Regions from separate parts of the Homo sapiens genome. Here region 1 is linked to region 2. The links are contacts of gene promoters, found by promoter capture Hi-C in blood cells and fetal thymus (Javierre and others, 2016). All regions are on one chromosome and are shown on one strand. Each heading gives the region's core, a stretch centred on a gene start or on the middle of the fragment in contact. The rest is flanking DNA. Distances are from core to core; before and after follow the strand shown.

What was found. Contacts are between HindIII fragments. The CHiCAGO score rates a contact against its expected background, and 5 or more counts as called.
Region 1: a fragment that was not itself captured here is called in contact with the fragment with the promoter of ENPP4 in region 2 in 1 of 17 cell types (total B cells); the score reaches 5.2 in total B cells.

What each region holds. Positions count from the first base shown.
Region 1 is chr6:46,384,056-46,388,768 of GRCh38, reverse strand. All of the region lies in intron 2 of RCAN2 (regulator of calcineurin 2), which reads left to right. Among named protein-coding and RNA genes, the nearest start is that of RCAN2, 110 kb to the left of the region's middle. The HindIII fragment of the contact is 4,079 bases long and covers 1-3,628 here.
Region 2 is chr6:46,127,231-46,131,734 of GRCh38, reverse strand. It overlaps ENPP4 (ectonucleotide pyrophosphatase/phosphodiesterase 4), which reads right to left and starts at 1,746. Exons shown (of 4, transcript NM_014936.5): 1 at 1,546-1,746. It also overlaps a transcript of CLIC5 not described here. The HindIII fragment of the contact is 7,807 bases long and covers 1-2,132 here.

The sequences.
Region 1 (4,713 bases), core at 340-2,839, 260 kb before region 2:
CCCTGTGTCCATGTGTTTTCATTGTTGAACTCCCACTTATGAGGGAAAACATGCAGTGTTTGGTGTTCTGTTCCTGTTTTAGTTTGCTGAGGATGATGGCTTTCAGCTTCATCCATGTCCCTGCAAAGGACATGATCTCATTCCTTTTAATGGCTGCATAGTATTCTGTGGTGTGTATGTACCACATTTTCTTTATCCAGTCTATCATTGATGGACATTAAGGTTGATTGCATGTCTTTGCTATTGTAAATAGTGCAGCAATAAACATACATGTGCATGTATCTTTATAGCAGAATGATTTATAATCCTTTGGGTATATATCCAGTAATGGGCTTACTGGGTCAAATGGTATTTCTGGTTCTAGATCCTTCAGGAATTGCCACACTGCCTTCCACGATGGTTGAACTAACATTCCCACCAACAGTGTAAAAGTGTTCATATTTCACCACAGCCTCGCTGACATCTGTTGTTTCTTTTTTTTAAAATTTATTTATTTTATTATTATTATTATTATTTATTATACTTCAAGTTCTAGGGTACATGTGCACAACGTGCAGGTTTGTTACATATGTATACATGTGCCATGTTGGTGTGCTACACCCATTAACTCGTCATTTACATTGGGTATATCTCCTAATGCTTTCCCTCCCCCCTACCCCCACCCCACAACAGGCCCCAGCGTGTGATGTTCCCCTTCCTGGGTCCAAGTGTTCTCATTGTTCAATTCCCACCTATGAGTGAGAACGTGCGGTGTTTGGTTTTTTGTTCTTGTGATAGTTTGCTGAGAATGATGGTTTCCAGCTTCATCCATGTCCCTACAAAGGACATGAACTCATCCTTTTTTATGGCTGCATAGTATTCCATGGTTTATATGTGCCACATTTTCTTAATCCAGTCTATCATTGATGGACATTTGGGTTGGTTCCAAGTCTTTGCCATTGTGAACAGTGCCACAATAAACATACGTGTGCATATGTCTTTATAGCAGCATGATTTATAATCCTTTGGGTATATACCCAATAATGGGATCGCTGGGTCAAATGGTATTTCTAGTTCTACATCCTTGAGGAATCGCCACACTGTCTTCCACAATGGTTGAACTAGTTTACAGTCCCATCAACAGTGTAAAAGTGTTCCTATTTCTCCACATCCTCTCCAGCACCTGTTGTTTCCTGACTTTTTAATGATCACCATTCTAACTGGTGTGAGATGGTATCTCATTGTGGTTTTCATATGCATTTCTCTGATGGCCAGTGGTGATGAGCATTTTTTCATGTGTCTGTTGGCTGCATAAATGTCATCTTTTGAGAAGTGTCTGTTCATATCCTTCACCCACTTTTTGATGGGGTTGTTTGTTTTTTTCTTGTACATTTGTTTGAGTTCTTTGTAGATTCTGGATATTAGCCCTTTGTCAGATGAGTAGATTGCAAAAATTTTCTCCCATTCTGTAGGTTGCCCGTTCACTCTGATGGTAGTTTCTTTTGCTGTGCAGAAGCTCTTTAGTTTAATTAGATCCTATTTGTCAATTTTGGCTTTTGTTGCCATTGCTTTTGGTGTTTTAGACATGAAATCCTTGCCCATGCCTGTGTCCTGAATGGTATTGCCTAAGTTTTTTTCTAGGGTTTTTATGGTTTTAGGTCTAACATTTAAGTCTTTAGTCCATCTTGAATTAATTTTTGTATAAGGTGTAAGGAAGGGATCCAGTTTCAACTTTCTACATATGGCTAGCCCGTTTTCTCAGCACCATTTATTAAATAGGGAATCCTTTCCACATTTCTTGTTTTTGTCAGGTTTGTCAAAGATCAGATGGTTGTAGATGTGTGGTATTATTTCTAAGGGCTCTGTTCTGTTCCATTGGTCTATATCTCTGTTTTGGTACCAGTACCATGCTGTTTTGGTTACTGTGGCCTTGTAGTATAGTTTGAAGTCAGGTAGCGTGATGCCTCCAGGTTTGTTCTTTTGGCTTAGGATTGTCTTGGCAATGTGGGCTCTTTTATGGTTCCATATGAACTTTAAAATAGTTTTTTCCAATTCTGTGAAGAAAGTCATTGGTAGCTTAACTGTTGTTTCTTGAGTTTTTAATAATCCATTGACTGGCATGATAGCGTGAGATGGTATCTCATTAGTTTTTAGTTTAGTTTTTTTTTTTTTTTTTTTTGTGAGACAGAGTTTTGCTCTTGTCACCCAGGCTGGGGTACAGTGGCGCGATCTCGGCTCACTGCAACCTCCACCTCCCTAGTTCAAGCAATTCTCCTGCCTCAGCCTCCCGAGTAGCTGGGATTACAAGCACACACCACCACACCTGGCTAATTTTTTTTTTTTTTGTATTTTTAGTAGAGACGGGGTTTTGCCATGTTGGCCAGGCTTGTCTCAAACTCCTGACCTCAGGTGATTCACTCGCCTTGGCCTCTCAGAGTGCTGGGATTACAGGTGTGAGCCACCGCACCCGGCCTCCTTGTGGTTTTGATTTGCATTTCTCTAATGATCAGTGATGTTGAGCTTTTTTTCATGTTTGTTGGCCGCATAACTGTCGTCTTTTGAGAAGTGTCTGTTCATATCCTTTGTCCACTTTTTGATGGGGTGTTTGTCTTTTTCTAGTAAATTTATTTAAGTTCCTTGTAAATTCTGGATATTAGACCTTTGTCAGAAGGGTAGATTGCAAAAATGTTCTCCCGTTCTCTAGGTTGCCTGCTCGACTGATGATAGTTTCTTTTGCTGTGCGGAAGCTCTTTAGTTTAATTAGATCCCATTTGTCAATTTTTGCATGTGTTGCAATTGCTTTTGGCATTTTCATCATGAAATCTTTGCCCATGCCTATGTCCTGAATGGTATTGGCTAGGTTTTCTTCTAGGATTTTTATGGTTTTGGGTTTTATATTTAAGTCTTTTTTTTTTTTTTTTTTTTTTTTGAGAGAGAGAGAGTCTTGTTTTGCTGCCCAGGCTGGAGTGCAATGGCATGATCTTGGCTCACTGCAACTTCTGCCTCCCAGGTTCAAACGATTCTCATGCCTCAGCCTCCTGAGTAGCTGGGATTATAGGCATGCGCCACCATGCCCTGCTAATTTTTGTATTTTTAGTAGAAACAGGGTTTCACCATGTTGGCCAGGCTGGTCTCGAACTCCTGACCTCAAGTGATCTGCCCACCTCGGCCTCCCAAAGTGCTGGGATTACAGGCATGAGCCACTGTGCCCAGCCCTACATTTAAGTCTTTAATCCATCTTGAGTTAATTTTTGTATAAGGTGTAAGAAAAGGGTCCAGTTTCGGTTTTCTGCTTATGGCTAGCCCGTTTTCCCAGCACCATTTATTAAATAGGGAAACGTTTCCCCATTGCTTGTTTTTAGGTTTTGCATTTCAGCTTCTTACTAATCATGCTCTGCCCCTTCTAGCCTGAATAGTATTTATAGTGATAGAAAAGATGCAAATTTGGAGCAGGGCAGTGGTGCCTTGTCTACTGTGTGCAGTTCCTTGGTGTATTGTAGAATGCTGCTAATTCTCTGTTTGGCTACTGAATGCTCTCCTTGCAGATTTGTGCCTCTCCTGTATTTTCCTTGGGTTGGAGTCATCCTCCTGTATTTGATATACTTTAAAATGGTTTGAAGCAAAGTGGTTAGTGGAAAGAACATAAGCTTTGAAATCACAGAGACTTAAAGGTTCCTTTTATGATTTTAGAAAATTTTAGTTTGGAAAATTTCAAACATATGCAAAGTAAACAGAGTAAGTATAATGAGCCCCTAGTAGCCATCACCCTTGTCCAGCACTAATCAACATTCTGCCATTCTTGTTTCAGTCCTAATTCCAGTCCCTCCTCATTTCCCCTGGATTATTTTTTCAGTGCTTTAAATTCATTTATTTATAATGTACCTACATGGTGATGCACTATCTTAAGTGTGTGATTTTGACGAATGTATATATCCATTTGCCTCACACTCCTTTCGCCATAGAGAACATTTCCATTTCTCCAGAAAAGTCCCTTGTATCACTTCCCAAGCAGTCTGCTTCTCCCTCTGGATGCAAGCATGGTTTTGACTTATGTCACCTTAGATAAGTTTGACCTGTTTTAGCATTTCTTGTAAATGTAATCATACAATATGTCCTATTTTTGTGCAAGGCTCCATTTGTTCAGCATTTTAGCTTTGAATTTCTCCTCTTGGTATCCATCTGTTGTTGGCTGAGACTTAGCCTCTTTAACCCCAGTTCCCTTCTCTAGAAAATGGAAAAATAATAGCAATAAAAATTAACAAAAATTACATTGGCCTTAGGATAATAGGAATGTCCTCTCTAATACAAACAAATGCTAATTATGTTGTACTTGAGATGCAGGAATATGAACACCTTCAAAATTTACTTTTTGTCCGGAAAGATATTCCATGTTTGCTAGTGTTCTACTGATAATCCTTGTTTTGAAATGTGATGCTTGAATATGTATAATATATTGGTCAAGGTCCAGTCAGGAAAACAGATCTTATACCAGGTAGTTCAATAGAAGGGATTTAACACTGGAAATTAATTAAAAGCTGCTAGAAGAGCTGAGAAGTCAAACAGGCAATGGCGAAGCAGATGAGGGATTAACAATGCAGGAAGTCACCCATACCCCTAATACTAAAGGAGAGTGGGGAAAAGGTGCTGTTCCCAGAGCCCAGCAGTGAGGTCCACCAATGGGCCCTGGAACCTCATAGGAGGCTGCTGGCAACAGAAAGGAGATGCAGCTACTGC
Region 2 (4,504 bases), core at 497-2,996:
GTGTGGCGATTCCTCAGGGATCTAGAACTAGAAATACCATTTGACCCAGCCATCCCATTACTGGGTATATACCCAAAGGACTATAAATCATGCTGCTATAAAGACACATGCACACATATGTTCATTGCAGCATTATTCACAATAGCAAAGACTTGGAACCAAGCCAAATGTCCAACAATGATAGACTGGATTAAGAAAATGTGGCACATATACACCATGGAATACTATGCAGCCATAAAAAATGATGAGTTCATGTCCTTTGTAGGGACATGGATGAAATTGGAAATCCATTCTCAGTAAACTATCGCAAGAACAAAAAACCAAACACTGCATATTCTCACTCATAGGTGGGAATTGAACAATGAGAACACATGGACACAGGAAGGGGAACATCACACTCTGGGGACTGTTGTGGGGTGGGGGGAAGGGGGAGGGATGGCATTGGGAGATATACCTAATGCTAGATGATGGGTTAGTGGGTGCAGCGCACCAGCATGGCACATATATACATATGTAACTAACCTGCACATTGTGCACATGTACCCTAAAACTTAAGGTATAATAATAATAATTAATAAATAAATAAATCTAAGACCTGAGACCATAAAAAAAAATGTCTTCCAAATTATATCCTGTAACTAATTTAAGTGGAGGTGGGGGGAAGACGCACAAGTGCAGCAGGCCTCTTAATTTCCTTAAAACAGATTGAAACAATCTCTGAGGGGAAAAAAGAAGAAATAGAAGCTCATAATACTGAAACCAGCAGTTGATATTTCACAGTAGTTGGCAAATCTTCCTTCAGACTTGGGTCCACAAGATTGCCTGATTAAGCAAAGCCCTTCTGGAGTCAGATCTGGTGTAAACCTGAATCTGCCTGTCACTAGTTGTACAATCTTGGTTGGACGCGTCCCTTCACTTCTCTGAGCCTGACTTTCGTCATCTGTAAAATGGGAATGCTATGATCTCATAGGGTGGTTGTGACAAGAAAAGGAAGCATTGTTTTTAAGTCCTTACGTGCTTTTAATCCAGCCCTTTAAAAAGGCACTTAAATGTACCTTTTATTGTTTGGTTGGCTTGTTTTCCAGGAAATTAGTTCTTAAATATCATTATCTATAATTAACATAAACTCTAATCTAATATTCAGACAGACGGATGTCGATGCCATGGGTGGTTCTCCTTTAAAACCAAAAGCCTGGCGACCCCGCCCCAGCTCCCCTCAATTTTACCCCAGACCCACCTTAGGTTCCTCCACTACCGTTCGGCTGACTTCCCTCCCTTCACACTTAACACCACAGGTTGCCTTCCCCAGCACCTGCTAATTTTTCTTTCCTCTTCCCTTCCTGGCCTCCGCCTCGGCCCGCCACCTCCCTGGCTCTTTGAGTCCCTTCGTGGACGTCCCCGCCGCGCCCCAGGGGATGTGCGTGTAGTGGGGGAGAGTGGGTCATAGGGTCTGGTCTCACCATCTCTATTTTCAAAGCCCCTAGGGGACTGGAGAGGGGGTGACATTGCCCCCCAGAACGCCGAGCGCGCGAGGCGCGTACTCACCAGCCGCCGCGGTCGCTTCTTTCCAATGCGCGGAACTCGGCGCTCGCGGCACCTGGCACTCGTGGGAAGTTGCGGGGAAGGGGGACCTGGAGGAAGAGGGGCGATGCCGAGCTCTTCCTGAGGCGCCTGCGCAGTGGCAGGCGCCGCGCCGCGGGGCACAGCCCCAACGTCCCTATCTGCGCCGCTCGGGGCGCTCCGAGTGTGCGCAGCTGCCAGGCGAGCGTCTAAGGCGCCAGCTCAGGGCTGGCTGGGACCGGGCAGCAGAGTCTGAAACACGTCCTTGGATTGGATGCTAGAACCAGCGTTGAATGTAACTTTCTTTCCGATTGGTTAGACAGGTGCTTGGAGGGGTTGTATCGGACCTAAGAGTAGAGGTTGATTCCACTCTCCCACCACGCACTTTTCGTATCATCCTAGATCTGGATGCCCTTCATGGAACCTAAAAACCAGCGAGTCCCGGAAAGGCCTCAGGCAATTGCCAAGCCGATGGCCTTCTGCCACTTAGTTAATGTGCACCTGGCAGCTTAGGTGGCCGCGGAGAAAGCAACTTTGGCTGCACCAAGGTCCGGCACAAGTCTGGAGAAGCTTCAGCCAGTTCCAGTGAGTTGGGATAAATGAAACGTGGATCTACCATAGACGTCTGTCCGTCTTACTGGATAAGCGAGCACCTTTACCGGGGAAGTTAGGTAATAGTTTACAAGTAAGGTTAAAAGCAGCACAGTGCCTGCGGCAGGGAACCAGTAATGAGTTACAGCTGAGAAATGGGTGCTTACTTTGACAGACGCGTATGTGGGATTGTGCTCCTGCTTTTAATTGGAAGGTTATTTAATAGAATAATGTAACTAAACTTTCCAACATAAAGAGCAGTTACCAAACAGAAGTAGAATTATTCGCTAACAGTTGGGTTGTCCAGGCACACTTGGCAGTGAGAGGATAGCATCTTTTTTCTTTTTATCTGTAGTGCCAAACAGAACTTGGTATAGAAGTACTTGCTAAATCACTATTGAATTTAATTGTCCCGCTTGTTAAAATGCAGGCTCCAGAAGGTATTTTCTTTCTTGTTCACTACTGTATCTCCAGCTCAAATAAAAAGTACAAATAAATTAAGAATATTAATCACATGTGATATCCTCAAGTGTTAAGTATTTAATAGCTGTAAATCCAGTACCTGGATTAGTAAACTGCAGTACTGGACCTTAGATAACAAATTCTGACGTTGGTCCCCTTGGTCTGAACCTTACAGTATAGCTATTACCAACAATCTGGAAGCAGCCATGGAGATGATTTGGCAATAGATGTATTCCGTTGATTATTAGTTTGTGCCTTGATAAATTAATTCCAGTTTTAAGTCTCAGGTTGGCCTGTGCATTGGTGAATATGGGCATCTTAGATCCATGGGCTTTCAGAGCTGGAGGGGATGGTAGTGGGTCTGTAGCTGAATCCCTAGAACCTGCAGACCCTAGAACCTGGTTTGAATACTCACTCTGTCACTCACCAGCAGAGCAATCATGGGCCAGTGTCTCAACCTATTTGAGCTTTCATTTCCTCATCTGCAAAACGCGTCTTGTTACAATACCAACCTCTTACTATCAAATGAATGAGGAAAGCGAGTAGAGTATTCAGCACAGTATCTGACACATGTTGTTTTGGGGATTATTATCATTATGACCAAAAAAGTACCCCAATTTGAACAATAGTCAGGGTAAGGCCAAGTTTTGGGGGAATTTAGGTAATGTCCAATGACATAACATTTAAGATTAGCAGAACTTAAATTTTGTGGCATTTGGGGGTATTGTGCATATCCTGTTTGTTCATTCAGTAGGTGCATATGTATGCTTAAAGGGTGGACAAAACTGAATGCCATCTAGGTCAGATGTGTGGTGAAGATAGCAGCTGGATGGGCATCAGGAGAGGACTCTCTTTATCCACTGCTACTGCCTGTGTGGCTGGGTTAAATTAGGGAGTCTCATGCCACCTGGGCTCTTGCTCTGTAAGATAAAGTGGTCAGGAACAGAGGGACAAAATGACACATAAGGACCTTTGGCCCTAAACTTTTGTTATCCTCTATATATTTACCATTTCAACCACAACCAAAATCCTGTTATAGTAAGGATATTTATCGTCTTGTGGAACAAGAAGTCCAGAGGTAAGGCAGACTTCAGGACTGGTTGAGTTAGCAACTCAACGATTTCATAATGTACTCAGTTCTTTGCAGCTTTACACTTGGCTTTTAACAGAGTAGACTTCTGGTTCCTTTAGTGGTAAATATAACTACCAGCAGCAACAGGAACCATGTAATTCATTTTTCACTTCCACTGGGTGATAGAAATGACGTCTAGATTTCTTCTGTCTCTTAGAAGTCTTCAGCAACTGTCTCCTTTAATCACTTTGGACAGAATTGTGTCACATATCCAAATCTAAGCCAGCAAAGGATATGGTTACCTGTAGACCAATGCAGTCCACATCTTAAACTGAGGTCTCACCCAAACTTTACTTTTTTTCTCAATGGAAATGAGTTGGAATGGGTGCTGGGAAGCCGGCCACAAAGTTCACTATAGTTTCATTGTAGAACTTTAATGATAATAAAAGAAAACATAATAGTAACATAAATTTCTTATTTACAATGTGATTTTTAGGCATAAGTGTTGTTTTATTTAGGTAGGCAAAATAATATTCATTTATAATGTTCTTTCAGCTCAGCTTTTGCAAAGGGAATTTTATATAAATTTTGGAAATATAGAGAGCCTTTAAACCCATTTTATGTTAGAGATTGAAATGAATTAGAGGCAATAGTCTAAACTTATTATTTACAAATGAATATACCCCACAGAGAAATGACTGAGCAAACATACAGTTAGATAGAAGAAATATATTCTAATGTTTGATAGGAGAGTAGGGTGACTATAGTTAAATGTATTTTATATTTCAAAATAGCTAGAAGACAGGACTTGAAATGTTC